Linked DNA regions of Homo sapiens: region 2 is linked to region 1. Evidence: promoter capture Hi-C in human tissues and cell types (Jung and others, 2019). All regions are on one chromosome and are shown on one strand. The core of a region is centred on a gene start or on the middle of the fragment in contact, and the rest is flanking DNA. Distances in the headings are between cores, read along the strand shown.

Evidence for each region. Contacts are between HindIII fragments. The study calls those that stand out against the background at their distance.
Region 2: a fragment that was not itself captured here is called in contact with the fragment with the promoter of CHRM2 in region 1 in 1 of the 25 tissues and cell types used here (pancreas).

Annotation. Positions count from the first base shown.
Region 1 is chr7:136,865,230-136,870,823 of GRCh38, reverse strand. It overlaps CHRM2 (cholinergic receptor muscarinic 2), which reads right to left and starts at 2,172. Exons shown (of 4, transcript NM_001006630.2): 1 at 1,832-2,172; 2 at 1,406-1,563. RefSeq lists an enhancer at 731-1,493. The HindIII fragment of the contact is 6,446 bases long and covers 1-4,702 here.
Region 2 is chr7:136,899,750-136,905,705 of GRCh38, reverse strand. All of the region lies in intron 2 of CHRM2 (cholinergic receptor muscarinic 2), which reads right to left. MIR490 (microRNA 490) reads right to left here and starts at 2,539; the gene lies at 2,412-2,539. LOC349160 (a long non-coding RNA gene) reads left to right here. Exons shown (of 4, transcript NR_046103.1): 3 at 3,705-3,856; 4 at 5,889-5,956. The HindIII fragment of the contact is 3,977 bases long and covers 768-4,744 here.

The sequences.
Region 1 (5,594 bases), core at 923-3,422:
CTGGGCTGGCAGACTTGGAGCCCTGGGTGGCCGCAGTCACAGACGTGCTGTGGCGGTGAACTGACTTAAAGACGCGGGAGGGCGGCCTGGGTGAAATGTCCACCGACAGTTCTGCTGGCTTTACGCGTTTACCTCCAATTCTCTGTTCTCCTCCAGCCTCTCTGCCCCTGGCGAACCTCCCTGCTGGTATTTCCGTACATGCAAGAGCCTTGGCATCATCGCCAGGGACTGGCGGGTCGGTGGACTCAGCCTGGGACAATTCTGTATCTCAGGGCAGCCTCGAGGACGGCAATGGGCAGGAAGATAGAGAAAGGGATGCGGATGCTGGAGGCGGACGGAGGCAAAGGGTGTGCCGCCGTGTGTGTCAATAATTCTGGGGAATTTTCACCTCTCCCAGATGAGTCTCTACTTACCCCGTGAGGGGCCCCAGGGGCGCCGGGCAGCGCGCACAGGTGGAATTTCTGCGCGTCTACCGGCACCAGGCATGGACCGCACCTGTCCGTGTCCGAGAGCTACAAGTTAGCGGCGATTGCCTGGGACCTCAGGTGCGGACTCCAAGGGACATTGCGGGCGGGGAGGGGTGCAGCGGTCCCCAGTCTACGACCCCGGGGACTGCCCGGGCGGTTCAGGACCCATTGTGAGTTAGGTGGCGAAGCCCAGGCACTGTCTGGTACCTCATGAGCTTCGGGCTGAGACCTTGTCCCCCAGCCACGGCGGACAGTCCAGCTCCTGCGCGGGGCTCAAATAGGATGGGATTGCAGAATGCTTCCCTCTCCTTTGTCTTGGGACCCTTTCCCCCATTCTAATTGCTTCTCCTCCTTGGCCATGACCTGGAGACCGCAATGGGAAACCTCTCCAGCGCCCAAGGGCTGCTCCGAAAGCGGAGCCGGGGGACAGCTCGGAGCCCGAGCGAGCCGGGCCTCCATCCCACACGCACAGAAGACGCGGTCAGACCCCAGCAGGAAGGAACCCGAGGGGCGGGAGGGACGAAGCTCTCCTTGTCTTGTCCATGGCTGCATCTGGAGTGGGTGGCGGGAGGGGGGTCAGCAACAGTAGAGGGAATGGGGGGCTGGAATAGGGAGCGACGCCGGGACAGCGCAGCTCCCAGGCTGCTTTCGCCACATTCGGCTGGACTCAGTGACCGTCGGAATCGTAGGGGTACCTCGCCTCGCGCTGTGCCTCGTTTGCCCCTTCCTTTCAGACCCGCCATCACTGCTCGCAACCCTCCAAGCCCCAGGATCCAAAGTTTCCGTTTGAGAATCTGCACGTGGGGAGGACCTCCCTCCAATTCCCCCAAGCCCCGACCCCTGAGCCTCCGGCTTGGGGGGATATGAAGGGAGAGACCCCCTGGTGCCAGGGCCCTTGGAGTGGGTAAGCGGAGAGCTGCACAGCGCGGGGCCCTTACCTGTCGCTGGTTTCGCTCCAGTTGCCTCCCCGGCTGCGAGGTGGTGGAGGCTTGAAGGAGCGAGGAGTCCTTTGTGGGTTCAGGGCCGATCCGCTCGGGCTGGAGCTGCGCACCGCTTAGAGTCCGAGGCCAGCTGCCGGTTCTCTTTCTCCCTTGATCTTGCAAAAGAAAAGGAAAAGATTAGTTGATGCCGAGACACTGTAGGGGTGGGGCGGGAGAGGCGGGAGAGGCGGGAGAGAACCGACCCCAAGGCTCTGGCGAGAGCTGCGGGGCTGGCGCGCGCGCAGGCAGAGTCACGCACCCCACACTCGTCTCAGCCACTTGGCTAGTCTGTGACCTGTTCGTGGTTTAGACTGGAGTTAAATTGACGCTGCCCCCGCCCTCCACGCCAAACCACTAAAGGAGAAGCAAACAAGACTTTCAAACCTGGCTTTCACGAAGAGCCTGGAGACCAAAATAGAATGGAGACCTGGATGCCTCGGCGAGCTGGGCTGGATTCATTTCTTCACCAAAGTGCTTGGGGAAGTAGGAATTAGTTTTGGGAGGCAACACCTATTCGGGTACCTCGGCGATTTCCTGGTGAAATCTGCGATTTCCAGGCTCTGGCCAACCCGCAGCCTGGAGTGTGTGAGTGTGTGTGTGTCTGTGTGTGTGTGTGTGTGTGTGTGTGTGCCCGCGCGCGCTCCCTAGGTCTTTGCGCCCTGGCGCCTTTAGTACAGCAGGAGAGCGTGTCTGTATTCGTGCGTGTGTGTTCGATTAGCTGCAATGGGCGGACAATTTCTGGAGAGAACATTTACAATTTTCTTTCAGTATGACAGGATTAGTTGCTGTTGAAGGCGCTCCTCCAATGAAATCTTCTGTGCTCTCTGATTTGGCGGTTCTTCTGAGCAAATATGACAGCCGTTTCTCCAGGCTCTTTTTCGCTTCTCTCCATTTCCATCCCCAGAGCCCAGCTCTCCATCTGCAATTTCTACATCAGAACCACCCCCAACCCCGAGTCCCTTCCCTGCAAGTGTGTGAGTGCTACAAAGGTGACATGGCATATTGGGAAGAACGCAGTATTGCTTTTTGTTTGTCGGAGATACTTAAGCCCAGTTTTTCCAGGTGGGAAAATGTTAGACTAAATCCACTATGCTTTGTAAATATATAATTGTGCTGAACTATTCACAGATTGTTTATTTCTTTGGAGCTTTGACAAATGTATCCGAAGGAGAAGTAATTTTTTTCTCTTACTTTAAATATGAGCCAGTGACCATGTTTTCTTCAGCTAATGGGCAGTAGACTACAGAATATATCTATATCTATATCTGTATCTATATCTATATTCAGAATATGTGTATATCCAGAATATATATATCTAGAATATATATATATATGTCCAGGATATATATATCCAGAATATATAGATATATATATCCAGAATATATATATATATATCCAGAATATATATATATATATCCAGAATATATATATATATCCAGAATATATATATATCCAGAATATATATATATATATATGTCCAGGATATATATATCCAGAATATATATATATATATATATATATATATATATATGTCCAGGATATATATATCCAGAATATATATATATATATCCAGAATATATATATATATATATGTCCAGGATATATATATCCAGAATATATATATATATGTCCAGGATATATATATCCAGAATATATATATGTCCAGAATATATATATATCCAGAAAATATATATATATCCAGAAAATATATATATATATCTCAAAAATATATATATATATATCTCTCTCAAAAAAAAAAATATATATATATATATATATCTCCAGAATATATATATGTTTGATGCTTCAGGGAATTTGTGATCTCCATGAAAAAAGATTTAGGATGCAAACTTTCTGTGTTCAGACCTGCCTTTGATGTTTATTTCTTTATTTTAATGAGAAATTTCTGCCAATAATTGTATCTATTATTTTTAGATACTAACCTCATTTGATAAAAGTACAATGATAGGATTCTAAAGTGTAGCTTAGGCCAAAACTTGCTTTTGTAAAAGCATATGTGTATGTGAATATAACATCAATATATTATATATTACATAGGCTTTATTTTCTCTCATCCAACTTCAATCAAATAAAGAGCAAGAAGTGGAAACCTTAAATTGAATAGCCCAGAATTGGACACATCACTTTTTGGGTCACAGGGATAGACAAAGAGCAAGTTAAAGATACATTGATATAATATAATATAGTCAATTAAATTCAGTTCAGTTCTTGACGTCCAGGGTTTTGCTAGGTATTAAAGGCCATCCACAAGAGCAAAAACCACTGTCCCTGTGTTTTTATAAGCTTCTATTCCTATTGACAAGAAAAGACACTTCATTTGAAACATCTATGTAACAGTTGACAATCCAATGATTAATTTTATAGCAATGTAAATTTATTGATAAATGGAAATGCTGTAGCTGAAAGTTTCTGCCCTTTTTGTTAACTCATAGCTATCACCAAGCAGGACTTGACACAAAGTTGATTTTGCTTGATTGAAGTCATCCTAAAATGCAGCATTACAATACTGTGTCTCTGCCTTCAACCTCCATACTTACATCCCACCATCACTGGGTGATTATAAGATACCTGTGAGAAAATCAAAACAGCCCTGCTAAGTCTTGTTCTCAGCCTCTCCCAGCATTTGTTCCACTACATTAAATATCTGATTTTGTCATCTCTCCTCTCTTAGACACTCTTTTCAGAATGAATTCACATTTTCCTTTTTTACTCCATTATTTCTGTCTACTGAGCCTCCATAAACCCATGAAGCTGCTTGAGTCTTTTGGAACACACACACAGACACACACCCATCAAAGCAAAAAAGTGAGGAGAAATAGATCCCTGGCCAGCAATAGACAGGAAAACCCAGTGATTTGTTACTTTTTTGTTCCTTTACATCATTAAGAACACTAAGCCCCCTTTTACTAATAAAGCTGCACATTCCAAAATGAGCAACCAAATAAATAACCAATGAAGGCAAACGAATATTTTTCTTAAACCTCAATAAAACAGAGTCTATGTGTGACTGAAGTGCTATGTTTAATAGAAGTCAGTATACTTAAGGCCTTTTGGAGAGGAGTTGCACAGGGAAGCATCATTTTTAGCCAACGGTCATCAATTATGTCCATTTTCTTTTTCTAGGTCATCACTTAGAACACATCTTTATATAGACTTGTAACTCTGCCATTCACTGTGATTTTAGGGAAGTTGTTTAACTTTTCTTTGCCTCAGCTTCTTAAACCATAAAATGGGTATAGCATACATGTCGGGGTTGGTAGGAGGGATAATGGAAGTAATTCATGTGAAATTCTTAAAAGAGCATGTGACACATAGCAAATTGCTATAAATATAACATTGTCGGTCAAGACTGAAAAATACAGTTTCTTGGGTCACACCTGTGACCTCTGAAACAGAGTATTAAGGAGTGATTCTTGACAATGCAAACCATAATGCTCATCACCATCATATAATTAACAAGATAAACATAATCCATCAGCATTCTGACCCCAGGGAACTTAATTCTTTTCTTCTTCTAGTTGCTGTTTCCATACAAGAAATGATCATGTGTATTCTGAGTGTTTTATTTTAATCTCTTAAGCCAGTTCGTTTTCTGAGGAAAAAAAAAAGAATACTCCCCACCCAAGGAATATAGCATTTATATGATTAGTAACTCTTGGTGTGGAACATTTTCGTTTGTCTGTTTTTCGTGAGATGGAGTCTCACTCCGTCGCCCAGGCTGGAGTGCAGTAGCATGATCTTGGGCTCACTGCAACCTCTGACTCCCAGGTTCAAGCAGTTCTACTGCCTCAGCCTCCCAAGTAGCTGGGATTACAGGCACCTGCCACTGCGCCCAGCTATTTTTGTATTTTTTGTAGATACGGCGTTTCACCGTGTTGGCCAGGCTGGTCTCGAATTCCTGACCTCAAGTGATCAGACTGCCTCGGCCTCCGAAAGTGCTGGGATTACAGGCGTGAGCCACCGTGCCGGCTGGTGTGGAACATTTTCAAAACTGCTTTTTAAATACTTTGTAAAATGCATCTATGAGATTTTTTTTTTAATCTACATTCCTCTTTTCCACCTCAAGGAACTCTAATAAATTAGTAATTTCTACTTATTAAGCCAAACTTCATTACATATAACCTTC
Region 2 (5,956 bases), core at 1,507-4,006, 34 kb before region 1:
CAGAGACTGGAAGATCAAAATAAATAAATAAATAAATTCTAATTATAAAATACTTAAAGGGGATTGATCTGAATAAAATGGCACAGATAGTTTAAAATGATGACAAATTCTTTTAGGCAAACTAAAACAGAAGAAATAGGAAGCAGCCATATTAGTTTCAGATAAACTAGAATTACAAGCAAAGTGTACTGAACAGAACAGAGAAAAATAGTTTAGTTATGTATAAAATTCAAAATATGTTTAAAAACCAACAGAATTTGATTCAAACATGATAGGTGCAAAAAATGCAAATACAGCTACAAATCAGGTAGATTTATTTTAAAAAATAAGAACAAAAATAAATGAATAATATAATGAATATGGGAAATAAATACAAATAAAAAACGAGTGCATTTTGTGTGCATGTGTGTGTATATCTTGGCCCTTTTCAACAAAGAAAATGATCTTCAGTTATCCAAACAACTCAAAAACTGAAAAGCTTAGAAAATTCCCAAAATATAGACATTCTAAGACCATATTATTGGGGCAAAATGCAATAAAATTAGAAATTTGTAAGACAATTTGAAATAACAACAAAAGCAACAAACATCTAGCACTTCAGATTTTAAAAATTAAAATTATTATACAAAAAAGAACAACCCAAACTATAATTTTCAACCAATATTAATATTTGTGTTGAACATTTGATTTTGCTATCATCACAGTACTGTACACTTATAAACATATCTCATTTAATCTTACAAAGCACTATAATGTAAATATACTCACTCTAAATTACAAATACAGAAGTGTAGTGAGTTAAAGTCCCTCTCACAACATGTGTGAAACTGTCAGAATTCAAACCTAAGCTCCTTGATTCTAAACCCGTGCTCTTTTTCACCTGGTCTTAGCCAAAAGACTGAAAAGCAGCAAGCCTGTGCTCCCTTAATGTTAACCAGGCTATATTTTAAACATTTAGATGAGACTAAAGCAGTTGTCAGAAACAAATTCATAGCTATAAATGTTCCCAATATTAAAGAAGAAGTATCAAAATTTTATAATGCAGAAGAAACTAAGCTTTAAACTCAAGAAATTATTTTAAAAAGGGAAACAAAAACCTCTACAGAATTAAAAAGAAGTAACTACAAAAGTAAGATAAGTAATAAATTATAAAAATCAAAAGCCACAAAACTCTGGCAAAAAAGCATGAGAAAAACATTTAATATTGGGAAAAAGAAAGGAAAGATAAATTTGGAGAATAATTATTTTAACAGAATCATATGCACAATTATTTGATAAATACTACAAGCATTTTTCTTAAATAGATAATGGTAGCCATCTATAATTTAACAAAATTAATGAGTAGAGATATAGAAAATGTGAATAGGCAAGTGACTTAGAAAAATGTTATAATAATTTTTAAAACTGTTGTAAAAAATGATTTGAGCTTTTTACCAGAAGTTTTCCAGGAAGGGCCATTCAAACATTTAGAGAATTGATCATCGTTCTATGTAAAATTTTCAACAGTATAAGGATGAAGGGGAAGCTACCAATTGGTTTTATATAATCAAGTGATTATGAAATAAATTTCAGCCAAAGATAACTCAAAAATTAAAAAAACAAACTTTTAACTCAGTTTCACTTGCAAATGTAGATGCAAAATGCTTTAGTAAAATGGTAGCAAATGGAATTCAATAGTACATTAAAAGAGTAACATATCATGACAATTAAAGCCATTGGATTTAGAAATGTATTAGTATCAGGAAAACAAATAACATGTCACTTCACATAGTCTGAATAAGAAAATATATATATATGATAATTCCAATACAAGAAAAATAAAACATTTGATAAAGGTCATCTCCTTAATATCATGTACAACACCTACTTTAAACCAAACCCCAAGGCCATATTACTGTTAAAACACTAGTAGAGTTATTAAAACATCACAAGAATGACTGTTTCAGCATTATTAATTAACATTATAAAACATTTAGCCAATTAAAGATATAAATAAAAATGAGAAATATTGTAAAACAGAAGGCGTATTATTTAAGAATAATATGCTGATACACCAACTTTAGAAATCCAATAAATTTAAATTTTAGAAAATTGCAGTCTTAAATGCTAGATTTGCCTGTTACTAAAATTCATTCTGTACATAATTAAAATTCACAAACAAATATTTTACTTATACTTCTATCATTTCTAATCAGCTTTTTAAAAGAGAAATCTTTTAATACTTATTTTCATCCTAGTAGTTTACATTGTGACACCAGCTCTAACAATATCCACAAAAATAACAAATACTTGGATGCTGAGGTGTGAATTTTGTTCCCATTTTTGAAAGCAGGAAGAGTAAGACTTCCTTTTGAAGGAGATTTGCACATACACTATAGAAGACACCCATTTAGTTCTTGGGAAGATGGAGTTGGAAGTGTCCGCTGCTTGTGAACAGCTCAACAGCATGGAGTCCTCCAGGTTGGTGCATCTCTAAACTTGACCCACCTGGAGATCCATGGTGTCGAACAATGAACTTTCCAAACCAGCAAGGCCTCCATAAAGTGAAGGGAGATCCTCTTCACCACCGTTGGTTGAAGAATAAAAAACCTACACCTACACTAGCCCAAATGAGTTTCTGTTGTTTGTCTTCTGTGTCAGAATTTCATTCATTCATTTCCCATCTCTGGCCTATTGTTTAAAGTTGCTGGCCATAATGTATACTTTCCAGACTCCAGGTTAATCCCAGGCTGAGAAGCTTTGTTTGTTTGATAATGAAAAACTGAACAAGGAAACAAGCAAAAACTTGCAAATAATGTGTACCTTATCATAAACATCCAAAGAGTACAAAATTCTGTGCTCTGCAGTTGCTGTATAACAAACATATTAAATTGTACTTGATTGAGCAAATATTTACATCTTACTGTGGAATTTCAAAGTTTAATGTCTACACGTCTTATTAAGGTTGTTATCTATTATTGTATGGTGGAGAAAGGATATCTAGCTGATAGTCATGTTTAAAAACTGACCTGGGTTTGGGACTGCAACCAAATTCTAAGGGCCTAGCTGTTTATGATTTGCCCATTCCATTCAGGGTCGTCCTAATCCCTTCTCAATCTAAGATGCTTCATTCTCACTATAGTTTGCTCGAGAAAGAAAGTGGCTGCTTATGGTATGAGTTCATAAGAGTCATCTAGGATTGTGTTTAATACCCTATCCCACCAGCTTCTAATTTTTACGTGCATTTAATTGGGGCTATATTTGTTAGTTTTCAATTAGAAAGAGACAGATAAAAAGTAAACTGCACACATTATCAGAGGATGCTATAGCTTACCTTCTCACTTATTATGAATTTGCCACCTAAATTCAAACTCTTCTGAAATTTATACCAATTATTAATTCTGAAAGCAATTCTGATTATCTTAATAACTAGCAACTGACTGCAAACATAGAAGGATAGCTAGGTGGATAGATGGATGGATGGATGGATGGATGGATGGATGGATGGATGGATAGATAGATCGATAGATAGATAGATGAGTTTAAAAGGAAGATCACAGAATCAATGTTAGTAGTTAACAATTATTTTTATATTTTGTTTTGAGAGTAGGCTTTGATGGAGCCTAATGAAAGCCATAGAAGAAGCTAAGGGGAGGCTGGACTGTTATAAACAACCCTTCACTTATCTAATACAATTTAACTAAGCTTATCATTTTTTTTTATAGAAAGAGAAATTGATCAGAATCTACTGACAGTTCTTCCTGTCTGGCTGTGTAATGGATTAGCATAGAGACGAGCAGCACACCTCTGTCAGAAAACCTAAATTTAAGTCACATCTCGGGGCTCTAACAATTTACCACCAACAGCGTCTTTGGAGGTCAGCCCCTGAGTCCATGATTCCCCTGTATTATTGGGAAAGAATTAAGAGGTTTTGTGAGTTATGCATGAGATGTGTGTGCAAGTTCTTTGTAAGCTGTAAATCTTACACATTTATGAAATTATCAATGTTGTTATTTTGTAAATGCAACTGATCAAGAGGCTAGGTTCTTACAACAAATGGATCAAAAAGCGTCTGTATGTTCTCAAAAAATAACAATGGAAATGGGGGAAAAAAATGACATCAGGGAATGGCCAAACTGGGTTGCTTAGGGTCCAAAGATCATTGCTATTCAAATCACTGCACTACAAGATCGGGTGAGATCTGCTAATCTGTTTGGGTCACTATAGGTCAGGGCACAGCACATTATAGATGCTAAATAAATGTGTTTTGTATGAATAAATACACATTTTTCTTTTCCTGTAGTCAATATTTAGTGTGTCTATTTTCAAATTTGCCTACGTGGTAAAGCCACAGTGACATTGAAAACTTGCCCTGCAAGTGCCTGTGAATCTGAACTGTCTCAATCTGTTTCTAGCTGGAATGCAGCTAGAACTGCATGCAACCCACTATACCTTTCTATTTTTCCAAGAACCAAAAACCGCAAGTCCACATATTTAATTTCACGTAATTCTCACATGCCTGGATCTTGGAAATGGAATTTTTCCTTTCCCAGGGCACTCGTTTCCACTTTGGGGGTGCCCACACTCCCCGGGCTGTACAGGACAATCTACTGGCTTGCAGGAAGAAAGTATTAGAAACTCCGTTCTCAATTACTGTTATATCATTCTCTAAAAGAGGTTTTTTGTGTATGTACTATGATATACATAATCATGGAAAAATTATTTCTATGTAATTTATAAATAAGAATATATCCATGCCTTGATTGGAGCTCAAAATTCTGTTATGAATAGAGGTGTGTAGCTCACATTCTTGGTACCCTACCCATATCATTCAGATCTTTCAGTGTTCCCCTGCTGACGTCTATATGCCACTGTCTGCTTCTCTGTGTCTGGGGGCTTTTTCAGAAACCTAGGAAGGCCACTCTGCTCACCCTGCACATACGGAAAACCAAAAATGCCTCGGGTGTTTACAGCCTCTAGGAGCAGGCTTTAAATAACAATTCTTTTTTTAAAAAAAAGATTGTTTAGCAGTTGGCAAGATAATTATGAGACGAGCAATTCTGTGCCATTTCTTAGAATGCCTCATGTGTGTAAGCTCCAGTCTCCTCTGAGATGCCCAGCTTAATAGAAACCTTTTTACTGGCAGCCTCTTCTTCCCTTTTCACATCCCCTCCTTCCTAGATGGCTCCTCGCACTTCACAAGTAGAAGTGAGCCTTGTTTCTGGGAGAACCAAACTGAAGTAAGCCTGTGATCAAATCCATCAGATGCTGCTGCTCCAAGCTAAGGCTCCATTCTGTTAGTTTTCAACGCAGCCTCCTGCTCAAAATTACTAACAGGGCAAAATCAGTCTGGTTTTACTTCTCCCTATGGCTAAGTCTAGTAATGTAGTATAATATTAAAAAAAATAGTTAACTTGGCTGCAAAACATTTAGGTTAGTCCTAGGAACTGTTTAAGGGTCTTTGTTTCCTTTCACTAGTATCTTCAGTGTCCACATTGGGCTGCTCTCTGACTCAGAGCCAAGGGTTGGGGAATGTATCACCTGCTGTTGGTGGTGATGATAGTATCAGAAATAAGCCTGTCTTTTGTTCTGACGGAATTTCATTTCTCCTTTTAATTCATGCAAACAAAACCATGGCTCACTAGGTATGTGAGTTTGTTTTTACTTATTTATACAGTCTTCAATGCCTCCCAGTAAATTAAAAAGAAAAATAATAGCAATGAGAAAAACTAAGAACTCTTGTTTAGAGAAGATGATTATTCTAGATAATTTTCAATATTGATTTTTCCCCAGGGATTTGCTAGAGGTATTTGCATGAAACAAGCTTTTTAAACTATGAAGTGTATTCATATCTATGGTTTATCACCTAGCCCATAACTCCTGTTTATATCTTTCCTCCCAAATATTAGCTCTGAAGAAGATCCTGATTTTCTCAAAAACAAGTCATTGAGTTCTACACTGTAAAGCAAGACATGGA